Regions from separate parts of the Homo sapiens genome. Here region 2 is linked to region 1. Evidence: promoter capture Hi-C in 16 types of primary human blood cells and fetal thymus (Javierre and others, 2016). All regions are on one chromosome and are shown on one strand. The core of a region is centred on a gene start or on the middle of the fragment in contact, and the rest is flanking DNA. Distances in the headings are between cores, read along the strand shown.

Region 1 (6,168 bases), core at 1,561-4,060:
TCTTACGCATCTAAAATTTTCTTGGTTTACTTGTGTTTTTCCACCCCTGGTGTTTAGCAAAATCTCTCTTGAAATCTCCTGTCTGTTATCCCAACCAGAACGAAAGCAGAAGGAAAGGAATTCGCAGCAAAGGAATCGCCACCTGTCACATCAGTTGAGTTCTGTTACCTCTACATTAAAGTGGCCCTTCAGTTTTTCTGAGCTCTGAGGTGGCTCTGAAAGTTTAAGGAGGGTTCAGAGGGGAGGGAGCCGAGGTGGGGAAGAGAGAGCACTGCTCCACTCTGCTGCCAACCAGCCACTCTTCTTGAGCACAGCTGACTACATTTCAGAGAATCTTCACCACGGTGGGGAGGGGGTGTATGTTTCTCATGGAGAATACTGCAAGGGCTAAGCCTTATGTCCCTCTTGTGGGAGGTGAAACACACAGAAAGCAATGGCTGAGGGACTAGAAGGCAGAGTCCCTCCCACCTGCCCCACCCCCGGCTTCAAGGCAATTTCTTTTTGACCCAAGGGGGCAGGAAGGAACCCAGCTGACACCTGGCACCCGGACGGTGCTTTCTAACAGTGAGTTTGTTTTTCACCCTCAGCCTGGCATTGCAGCCTTGTACCCTGGCTGAAGAACGGGGAGACCGGGCACAGAGGCTGGGGTATGAGCCTGCCCTGAGTAGGAAGGTGATGGCCTTGGGTGCCCTGCACTGACCACCCTCCTTTGCCCACTTCAGGGTCATAGTGAAGAATGCAGAGCAGAATCCCATCCTAACTCTACAGCTGACAAGCCATGTGGCTCTGGGTGAAAAACTCCACCTGGTTCCTTTTCTGTAAAATAAGGAACCAAGACCCAATAAAGCTATACTTCACAGGTTTGTTGTAAAGTTGGAATGGGTCTGAGTGCTGGGCCTGGCCCTTGGTGGGTGCTCAGGAAATACCGTGTCCTGCTCAGTTTAATTTTGTTGTTTTGCTGTCCATTTAGAGAAGCCAAAATTAACAAAAACAAACAAATAGCCCTCCTGGTCAGGCTCAGCTCTCAGCCTCCTCAAGGAGTCAGCCCTGAACCTTCATCCGGAGGGTGCCTGTCTCTGTTTCCCTTTTTGAGCTTCCAGACTCAGCAAGCAAACGCTCCCTCCTTTTACCCTGGAAATGTTTTCCCTCCTATGGAAAAGGTATGAAGGCTTCTGGCCGGTCCAAGGACTTAGGAGGTGACCTGTCCTGTCCCTCTGCAGCCCGAGAAGCTGCCGAATTACAGATGTTGCTGCAGGCAGGAACCATGAGTGGAACTCCCTGGCCTGGAGCTGCAGGACAGAGGCCTCTGTCTGAACCTGGGGTCTGAAGCACCGTGAGAGAAATGACTCGAGAAGGCCCCACATCCTGCCCACACAGAAAGAGCCATCATGCAAATTTGCACGCACACACACACACACAGAGAGAGAGAGAGAGAGAGAAGACAGTGCTACTGAAGGCCTGTGGTGAGGCCAGCAGAGGCTCAGGAAGGGAGCAGAGGATGGCGGTCTGAGGTAGGCAGAGAGTATCCAGGGGAGAGATCACGGGGGTAGGGACAGAATGACAAAGGGGACCCAGTACAGCTGCTGCCTGGGGAGGACAAAGACCCCTAGGGGGCTGGGGCCAGGCTGGGCCTCTCCTCCCTGGGTCCTCTCACCCCACATCCCTCACCCCTTCTGTGGGTCTCTCCCCCTTCCCCAACAAAGAGCTCAGCAGCCTGTGTTCTGATCCCCATGCTAGGCGGTTCCTTGTCTGTAGGAGGAGGGGGCCACGGGATGCTCTAGAGTCCTAGGCAGCTGGGAGACAGGCCTGCTTGGGGACCACTTTTTAAAGCTGGTCCAAGGTCCAATGAACGGAGGAGTATTTATCATCAGCTAATGACAGGCCACCCTTCCCTGCATTCTAGCAGAGGAGTGACTTCAACTGTGGAATTTTAGGCCCTGGAATAAGGGGGGAATGGCAGTGTCAGGGGACTTTCCCTCCATGCAGCTACCTTCACTATAACAATAATGACTACAGTGGGCCTTAGTTTCCTACACAGGCACACTTTGAGAGTTCAGTGGTTCCTGTTGCCCATCAGGACAACAGGCCTAAGCCAGAGCTAAACCAGTAAGGAGGGTCCCCTTACCTCTCCTCGAGCTTCTCCAGGATGGTCCTGGAAGGCAAGATGAAGCTGGGAGCCCCCTGATGGCCAAGTTGACTCTGAGCTCCTGCAGCAACCACACCCAGAGCCACCCCCACCCCAAACCCAGGCCTTCCAGACTCCCTCTCTCCAGAGTCTAGGGTCGAGAATCACTTGGGACCTTTGGCCACAAAAGCCCCCACTGGGTACTCAGCCAGAGCAGTCACTGGGGACGCAGTGACACTCACAAGAGGATTAGCAAGGAGCTTCCTTCACCCTTCACTATTGCAGACCTCCAGAGGCTCTGCGGGGAGCCAGGGAAGGGAAACAACAGAGGTCCGTGGGGCCAGGGCAGGGAATCAGAGAAGGGTCAGATGAGGAGGGGTAGGCTGAGGGAGGAGGGGGACGGGACACAGAGCAGGAAGGGGGAAGGAGGGGCCTAGCCTAGCCCAGGCTCATGGCAGGTGCACACGGCACTGCCAGAGCCCTCGCCTCTCCCCTGCCCACCTGCCCCAGCCCCTGCCACAAGGACCCACATGTGACTCTCCACATTCCCTGCTCCCACAGGTTCCACCAGCCCCAACCTAGGCAGACCCACTTAGCTCACCTCCAAAGGACCCAAGAATGGATGGCTTGGCCTGGGCTCCCCAAGAGCACTTCCTGGCTCACAGTCGGCTTGCCCAGTGAATGTGGCTGTGACGGCTGGAGCTTCCGACTTCCGCTCCTCCTCACCACAACACACACCCCTCCTGCTCCCCGCCGCCTCCCCAGGGTTCCCTAGCTGCTCAACACCTCACACTTCCTGCCCACAAGATAAGAGCCTCTCTTCCTAGGCCCAGCGCCTGCAGCCCCTTTCCCCATGCCCCTGCTCCTTGGAGGCCCCCACCCTGCACACCAGCCTAGAAAGAACCTGCCATGGTGGAACTGGCCTCTCCCTGCCATGCAGGGGCCTGGGATTGAAAGGGGAAGGGGCCGAGGCCTGGTTGGTAAGCAGGCCCCACCTCCTTCCTCCCTGCGCTTCTGCCCCAGGTTCTCAGTCTTGCTCTGGCTCTTGGTCCCCTGCAGGGCACCCAGTGAGAGACAGGAGGGCCCTAAGTTGGGCAATTTCTGGTTTTAAAACAAATGACATTTCAATTTTTGTGTGACTATGTCTCATGTCACTGGTAATAATGCAAATGATACAATTGCCTTTTAGTTACAAAGTTTCTCCCAATAGTACCTCAATCCCTCCTCACACCTACTTTATGAAGCATTAATAACCCCATCATACAGATCCGGATCTGGAGGCAAGCTCAGAGATGCTAAGCCACTGCCCAGGGTTGCACAGCTGGAAAATTACAAAGCTGGGGTTAGAATACAGAGCCTGTGACTATATGAACCAAGGGACCTCCATTCCCCGTGGCTGAATTCCCAACACACGTCCTCAGGACACCGGCCGCAGTGTCCACAAGTGTAAGTGAGGCTGGTGGGGAGCGCAAACACCATGCCATTCTCCTCCCTCCACACAATCTACTTCCTCAACATCAATGACCGTCAACTTCTCTGCTGAGGCTCCACCACTCCCACCCTCCCTGAACTCTCGTCTTCATGATTCCAGCTGACCCAGAGACTCCCTCACTTGCATGTCCACACAGCAGTGGGGACCAGCCACCCTGACCCAGAGTTGAGAGGGTCGGGCTCTAGCTCACCTACAGCCGCACCCCTCCCTGCAGGGTACAGAGTCCACAGGAACATACCAACATGGAGCCCGTGCACCCTGCTTCTCCACCACACTCTGCGTGCCCCAGATCCCGAGACTCTCCACTTCTGGGGCCCAAATGGCCTCCTCCCCATGTGGGCACACAGCACCGCTGCCCTATGCAGCCTGAGACTGGGTGAAGCGCTGGCAAGAGTCCTGATAGCAGAGACGGGAGCAGGTAGAGAGAGCTCAAACCTTTGGGCAGGTCACCCACCCACATGCACGTGTGATACAGAGCAGGGTGGGGAAGAGAAAGGGAGGTGGAGCTGTGGCGTGGGCCAAAGGCTGGGGTGGGCTGTGCTGTGGCAGCAACATTCAGAGGCGGCTAAGAATCCTCCTTCAAACCTGGAGCTCCAGGCCATGATGAAAGTGGGAGGTAGGAGAATTAGGAGAATAGACACTTTTTTTTTTTTTGAGACCAAGTTTCGCTCTTGTTGCCCAGGCTGGAGTACAGTGATGCCATCTAGGCTCACCACAACCTCCACCTCCCAGGTTCAAGTGATTCTCCTGCCTCAGACTCCCAAGTAGCTGGGATTACAGGCATGCGCCACCACGCCCGACTAATTTTGTATTTTTAGTAGAGACGGGGTTTCTCCATGTTGGCGAGGCTGGTCTCGAACTCCCAACCTCAGGTGATCCGCCCGCCTCGGCCTCCCATAGTGCTAGATTACAGGCGTGAGCCACCGCACCCGGCAGGACACATTTTATATGACAGTTTGTGAGCTTTAGTCTTAACTTTCATGTATTTGGACATATCAGATGGGGTCCTCCACTCTCCACTTCCCAGGGCTGGCAAATGTTGGGGACATGCTTATCTCACCAGCACTTCAAACTCAATGTTTATAAGGCAAACCTGGTTCCTTCTCTTCTCCAAGCTCTTCTTCCTCATATATTTCAGGTTTTACAACTCTCTCTCTCCATCAAGCTGGGTAAGTCAGAAACCTGAAGTCACCAAGACCTAAATGCAAACCCTCCACTCTGGGCCCCAGCCGCTAGGGGTGTCTCCGGAACATGGCCAAGGCTCAAAGTCAGCACCTGCTCTGTGCAGGCTCTATGCTACAAGCCGCTGACCTATCAGGAATAAAACACATGACCCCTGTGGAAGCTGAAGCAACTCCATCTTGGAAGCTAACCTGCCACATTGACTTAACTGAGTGACCCCAGTTCCAAGGCAGGGCCTCTACAATTTCCAGTTTATCTATTGTTTCCTGTGTAAGAGCAGATACTTACTGTAAGTCCGTAAGTGCTACTCGTAGGTCAAACAACCTTGATGATATCACACTTCAATTGTCTTATAAATCCCATCTGAACCACTCCTACCCTATGGTATATGAGCCCTGGGTTTGGGTGCTAATGCGGGGATCCACCATCTCATCTCATTGCCGCCTGAGACACCTACATGGCTTCTGTTGGAAAGTCCCCTAGCTTTCTCAGCCTCTTTCTTCAACTTCTCAACTTCCTCAGACTTTGGGGTAGGTTTGCATAGGCCTGTCTACTGCAGAACAACTCCTGTTCTCAGGGAGCTTCCAGTCTACTGACAGAGAAAGAAAATAAACAATCGGACTTATGAATCAAACTTTATCATAAATTGTGAAGAATGCCTGGGAAGAAGCAGAGAGAAATAAGAGAGCAGCAAGGGTGAGCACACTGCCGTGGGAATTCGGGAAGGTCTCTGAAGCTGCACCATGTCCTGGTGAGGAGGGTCCAGTATGGAAGGGCATTTTCGGCTTCTAATTCCTTCCCTGAGGTGGGAAATGTCTCCACATTTCCAGGGAATAGAAAGCAAGCCAGTGTGGTGCAGCGCAGTCCCAGGGTCCCAGGGGGTGTGGGAAAAGATGGGGCCAGGAGGGGCAGGGCCAGATCCCACAGGCACCCCAGTGGCAAGACAGGGTGCATTTTTTTTTTTGAGACAGTCTCACTCTGTCACCCAGGCTGGGGTGCAGTGGTATGATCTCAGCTCACTGCAACCTCTGCCTCCCAGGTTCAAGCAATTCTCTTGCCTCTGCCTCCCAAGGAGCTGGGATTACAGGTATCTGCCACCACATCTGGCTAATTTTTGTATTTTTAGTAGAGACAGGATTTCATCACGTTGGCCAGGCTGGTCTCAAACTCCTGACCTCAAGTGATCCACTTGCCTCGGCCTCCCAAAGTGCTGGGATTACAAGCATGAGCCACCATATCCAGCCCAGGGTGCATTTTTGTTTGTTTGTTTTTTGAGATGGAGCCTCACTCTGTCGTCCAGGCTGGAATGCAGTGGTGCGATCTCGGCTCACTGCAACCTCCACCTCCTGAGTTCAAGCGATTCTCCTGC
Region 2 (6,168 bases), core at 2,955-5,454, 38 kb after region 1:
ATACTACTCTGCCATAAAAAGGAATTAATTAACAGCATTTGCAGTGACCTGGATGAGATTGGAGACTATTATTCTAAGTGAAGTAACTCAGGAATGGAAAACCAAACATTGTATGTTCTCACTGATATGTGGGAGCTAAGCTATGAGGATGCAAAGGCATAAGAATGATACAATGGTCTTTGGGGACTTGGGGGGAAGGGTGGGTGGGGGGTGAGAGATAAAAGACTACAAATAGGGTACAGTGTATACGGCTTGGGTGATGGGTCCACCAGGATCTCACAAATCTCCACTAAAGAGCTTACTACATGTAACCAAACACCTCCTGTACCCCATTAACCTATGGAAAAATAAAAAAATAAATAAATTAAATAAATGAATGAATATACTTCAGAATATGTTGGCAGTGAGTTTTCATCAGTTTCCGATAAGCGCCCAGGTGCTCTAGGGAGCACAAACAGCAAAACACTGAATCTTTACTTTAAGGTGCTCAGGGGATGGTTAAAACATACACCTCTGGAAAGACCCCAGAGGCGCCATGCAGATCAGGGGTCTGGGCTACAGGTCCTCATGGAGTCTAGAAGAGGGGGTTATTGAGGGCTGGTATGGACCGTGCTCGATGTCTTCATGGAACAAATTGTCCAAGAGCCTCGCTTTGAGGAGATTTTTGTAGGAACTAGGGGGTGCAGATGGGGAGAGAGAGCACTTAGAAGTAGAGCATGGGGTGGTGAAAGGACAAATTTCAGAGTGTCCAAGGCCTATTTATGCTTTAGGACAGACTAGAATCCTTACCATTGCCTACTAGGTTAGCAAGATCTAGCCCCAGCCTAGCTCCCTGTGCTCCAACCACAGGCCTGAGTTGAAAGAAAACTAAACTCCTGTGACTTATAATAAATACTGCCAAGGAGGGAAGGCGAAGATGTCAGTGTGACTCCATTGTGGCCTAAGGAAGATGTGTCTTGACTCTACACACAGACATACTGATCTCTTGGCAGGAAGCCCCTTGGAGTGGAGGTGGAGCGCTCAGGTGGGGCAGCTTGAGGTCCCTGGTCACTAAGATCTTTCCTCTGCTCTGACTCCAAGCAAATCAAGTTTCCTGAGTCATCTGACTGTGTCAACTGTCCCTGGGAAAGAATGCAGGCATAGCTGGCCCCTGAACAGATCCATTCCCCACTGTAGTGAGTGCCTGGGTATTTTATCTATCTCTTTTACGAGTTCTGTCCACTACCCACCAACACACAAAAGTACGCATTTCCCTTGTAGGCACGCCGTTGGGATTCCTGTGCTGAGTTCCAACATGTGGGTGTGTTCCCCCGGCCGAGGAGGGAAGTGTTAATTCCACACACCAGTCAATCATACAGGTAAAAGGTCTGCAACAGATAACAGGATGACAGGAAGTGGACTTTAAAGCAGGCACAGAAGACTTAGAATTTCTCGGGTGTCACCCCTTGGAGACTAGACATTGGCAATAGGCAACATTTGGATACTTGTCAGGAGTCAGGCCCCACCTCAGCTTGATTGATAGGTGAATGAAAATAAATTTTTCCTTAGAGTGAAACACCTAGAGAGTCTTGAAAAACCAGACCTTCACTAATTTGAGAGCATGAACCAAACTGATTATTTGCCTTGTCAAGATTCTTTCCAGGCCGGGTGTGGTGGCTCACACGGTAATGCTAGAACTTTGGGAGGCTGAGGCGGGCGGATTGCTTGAGTCTGGGAGTTGGACACCAGCCTGGGCAAAATGGTGAAACCCCGTTTCTATTTAAAAAAAAAAAAACAAAAACACTTTCCAGAGCAGTCAGGTGTGTACAAAATGCTGACCCCTGGTGGATATTTCCTGAACTACTCTTTTAGCTCCACATGAAGGAGACCCAGAGGCAAGACGTCAAAGCTAATCTTCCCTGTTTTTAAGCTTTCTCAGGTTTAAAGCTAAGAACCCAATAGATGAGTTTCATTGTCTCCAGAAACTTTTATGGAGAGAACTGGGCTGAATATCAAGCATGTTGAGATTTGCTGTTGTGGCTAGGGATTTCATAGTTATGTGAAGAGAAAACAAAAACTTATTTGGTTTCCCCAAGATTTGCAAGAATTTTACCCCAATTTGACACCCCCTGTTGAAGGCCAATTTATGTTCCCCCCAGAATGAAGCTTGAAATGTGTTTTAGCCAGCCTGTGATTGAGAAAATAGAAAATCTTCTACCTTCAACCCAAATTAACATGTAGTCAAAATGTACTGCTGATGCGGTAAGTGGCCTTTCTTTGAAGTTAAAGACCATCTCCCTCCATTGTATTGACAGACACTACCAGGGCCAGGTGGGAGAGCTGGGAGGACTTGACCTCAGGGTCCCTGACTTAGGAGCTATGTGGTCCACAGGGCCTCAGCCCTGGCATCATGATGTCCTTGTCCCACACCCAGATCAAGTGAATCAGAACCTCTGGATGGAGGAGGTAGGCCACTTTTGGTAAAAAGCTCCTGCAGGTCAGCCTGATGAAGACACATATCTAGTTCAATTCCCTCCTTTTATGAAAACTGAGGCCTAGGGAGGAGAGGTTGCTTGGCCAAGGGCCCCCCAGGGAGTCTGTAGGAAAACTCTGACTCACCAATGAAAGACCTGAATTCAGCCTTGAATTTTCAAACAGTTGTCCTTGATTCTGTAGTGTTGTAGTAGATCAGGCCCAGAAGTGACGGAAGAAGCCACAATCCTCTTGAGGCTTGCTTGTCTTCCCTCTCTGTGCTTTTCTCTCCCATCTCAGCCCCTCCACCTCCCAGTCACCTGTGCACCGCCTCCCAGTTGAACAAAAGCCTCACTTAAGCATGAACCCCAGGCCTGGCTTTCCTAATCCATGGCCCCTGCCTTGTGCTATATAAAGTGCTGGCCCCTTGATTATTAATTTCCTCACCGCAGGCTGAGACCAGACCTGGAATACCCCACCAAGCCAAACTCAAATGTTTGCACATCCACTTGCTTTAAACATAGCCCCAATAAGCCTATGGTAATCCATTTAGAACCTGCCTGCTCTGTATACTCCATGAAACTGTATCCAATATCTGCTGGCCAAGGATAAGCCCCAAGCCATAAAGGCCTCAAGCCACTGCAGCCCATAGGAGCTCTCTGACCCAGAGATTCCCTGCTGTGCTGCTGGGTGACTTCACCTGGCCATGTAAGCCCCCTTTCCAATTCTCTTCTTTCCTAGGAGTCCTCTTGCCCTCCTTCCCCTCTGAGTAGGACCCCATCTCCACACTATAGCCTCCTTGACCAATTCCTGCTATAAAGGACCTTCCCCAGTGTAAACCTGTTAAAGCATCAACCCGAAAGCCTATGTGTGCTACCGCCACCTCGTGGTCATATCTTTTTTCTTAACCTCCAAATATCTGAAAAATCCTTCACTCTGGGCCTTTTCCCTCTTCTAAGCTTCCTTCAAAATATTCCTGATCCAAGTCCCCAGTCTTCTCAAATTTGCTGACCTGTCGAATAAATTAATCCATATTGATATATCAGTGGCCAATTCATTTATTCACTGGCCAGATATTCACTTAGCACCCAGTATATCGCAAGCAATGGCCTTGGCACTTGAGATACACTGTAGAACAAAACAGACAAAAATATCTGCATGGGTTGAGCTGACATTCTAGCAGCACGATGATGATTTAAAGTTTTTCCTCTTAGGAATATTTTATGGAACACTTTAAACCAAAGTAAGGAAGTGTTTTGTTTTTTTGTTTGTTTGAGACAGGGTCTCACTATCACCCAGGCTGGGATGCAGTGGCATGATCTCAGCTCACCGCAACTGTCACCTTCCAGGTTTGAGTGATTCTCATGCCTCAGCCTCCCAAGTAGCTGGGATTACAGGCATGTACCACCATGCCTGGCTAATTTTTTGGCATTTTCAGTAGAGACAGGGTTTTGCCATGTTGGTCAGGCTGGTCTTGAACTCCTGGCCTCAAGTGCTCTGCCCACCTCAGCCTCCCAAAGTGCTGGGATTACAGGCGTGAACCACCATGCCCAGCTAAAGTGTTAAGAGGGGAGTTTTTGGTGTCATCAATGGGCTAGTGTGATAGAGAGTAAGGAGATGGGCTAGGTTTATAAGTAGGAGAATCCCTTTATGCTAGTGCGTATGCCAAAACTTATGCATTGTGCGATTTATGCTTTTTATTTTATCTTATTTCTTTCTTTATTTTGAGACAGAGTTTTGCTCTTGTTGCCCAGGTTGGAGTGCAATGGTGTGATCTCGGCTCACTGCAACCTCCACCTCCCAGGTTCAAGTGATTCTCCTGCCTCAGCCTCCTGAGTAGCTAGGATTACAGGTATGCGCCACCATGCCCAGCTAATTTTATATTTTTAATAGAGATGAGGTTTCACCATGTTGGTCAGGCTGATCTCGAACTCCTGACCTCATGTGATCCACCTGCCTCGGCCTCCCAAAGTGCTGAGATTACAAGCATGAACTACTGCACCCGGCTAATGCATTTTAAAACAGTGCTTCTCAAATTTAATGTGCATGGGAGATCTGGTTAAGATGATGACCCTAAGTCAGTAAGTCAAGCCTGAGATCTGAGAATCTGCATTTTAACTCCAGAAGTATGCTGATGTTGCTGATGCATGAACCACACTTGGAGCAATAAGGCTCTAAAGCAGATTCCTTTGAGCACTGACTCTTCTAGGACTAATAATAATAATAAGAATATGCCACTCACCACAGAAGGCTATTGCAAAGATTAAGTAACTTTGCAATAACTCAGCATTGCCTATTATTTGCATTTAGTGGTGGGAAAACCAAGGCTCTGAGGTGTTAACTAGCTTGCTTATGAGCACCCAGTGCAAGCAGGAGAGTCAGAGTGTGACTGCAGAGTCCCAGAGTTCACCCATGTGACTGTTTTGCTGCCTTGCCTGTTTCTAACCTGTAGCTTGCTGCTTGACCTAGTTTGCATGAAGAGTCTTAGCCTTGGGTTTTACCTTAGAGCCTCACAAATGTTAGCTGCTATTGTTGTCATTAAGCTTTGATGAGTTTTCTGCCTTGAACCTCCTCCTTTTACCAGGATTAAAAATATATCAACGACACATGCCCTGCCCTGCCAGCTACTTCCATTTTATATACAAGAAAGAGAAAACTCAGAGATGTTGGATGACCTCCTCAACGTCATAGGATCTTAGATCTAGAGAAGACCTTAAACATTTTCTCCAGTTTGTTGCCTTTTAGCCTATTTAGTTTAGTTTGCTTTTAGCAATGAAGTCTCCCTTTCAAACAAAGTCCCATGGGAGGTCCAAGTTGTAAAGAAGAGAAAAACAGAGGGCTCTGTTGGGAACAGGGTTCAAGGGATGAATCCTGGCCCATTTATCCTCCCCTCTGCAGGGTTTCCCATTTCCAGAGACCTTAGAGGGAAGGGTCCAAGGAGCTCTGTTTGGAAAATCCCCATCCAAATCAACATTCCCCTCAAACAAATGAGGAACAGTCCCCACAAAGGGAGGTGACTTGGCCAAAATCAGACAGCAAGTGCATGACCTCACTGGGGCCTGCCTCTTGGACTCCAGAGACCAAGCCCAGAATCTAACAGAAACAACCTGGGCAGGTGAAAGGACCACACTCCTCACTCTCCTGACTGTTTACTGAGGTGTGTTTGATAAGTGGTCACTCATGGTCTTGCACTCCCACCTATGGGGACAAATTCAATACTCCATTCACTAATCTCATAATTTCCCAGATGCTCCTTTCTTTACACCCTGGTTGTTGGGGGGCAAGTCTTTTTATTTTCTAGGTATTGTGAAATAAAATATACATACAGAAAACCGCCTAACTGCATCCATGCCAAGAAATAGAATGTTGTCTGGACCCTAAAATCCCCCAGGTGCTCCTGCCTGCCACTCTCTCTCGCAGGGGCCAAGTGTCACTGGGCCTTCAGACAGAGCATGGCCTTGCTTCTCTCTGCACCACCTGTTTCCACAGCCCTCCACACAACAGCCCCATGTTGCCCGTTTTGAACTTTGTAGAAATGGAATCACACTCTATGCATGCTTTTGTGATTCTTGTACCCACATGATGTTTGTAAGATTATCTGTCTTGTGAGGTGCAGCTGGCTGTAATTCATTCATTTTCTTTGCCAAGGAGCACTGTGTTGTGTGCAGATACATGATGTACTAATTCATTCTGTGATGGGTGCTTGGGTTGTTTCCA

The links. Contacts are between HindIII fragments. The CHiCAGO score rates a contact against its expected background, and 5 or more counts as called.
Region 2: a fragment that was not itself captured here is called in contact with the fragment with the promoter of PSD4 in region 1 in 2 of 17 cell types (total CD8 T cells and naive B cells); the score reaches 5.6 in total CD8 T cells.

Annotation. Positions count from the first base shown.
Region 1 is chr2:113,170,613-113,176,780 of GRCh38, reverse strand. PSD4 (pleckstrin and Sec7 domain containing 4) reads right to left here and starts at 2,810. Exons shown (of 17, transcript NM_012455.3): 1 at 2,727-2,810. LOC124907872 (a long non-coding RNA gene) reads left to right here and starts at 1,013. Exons shown (of 2, transcript XR_007087197.1): 1 at 1,013-1,511; 2 at 4,756-5,433. RefSeq lists enhancers at 2,238-2,327, 2,948-3,117, 3,168-3,237, 3,467-3,967, 3,968-4,468. The HindIII fragment of the contact is 16,060 bases long and covers 1-6,168 here.
Region 2 is chr2:113,134,230-113,140,397 of GRCh38, reverse strand. No RefSeq gene overlaps it. Among named protein-coding and RNA genes, the nearest start is that of IL1RN, 9.7 kb to the right of the region's middle. RefSeq lists a silencer at 4,782-4,931. The HindIII fragment of the contact is 1,584 bases long and covers 3,413-4,996 here.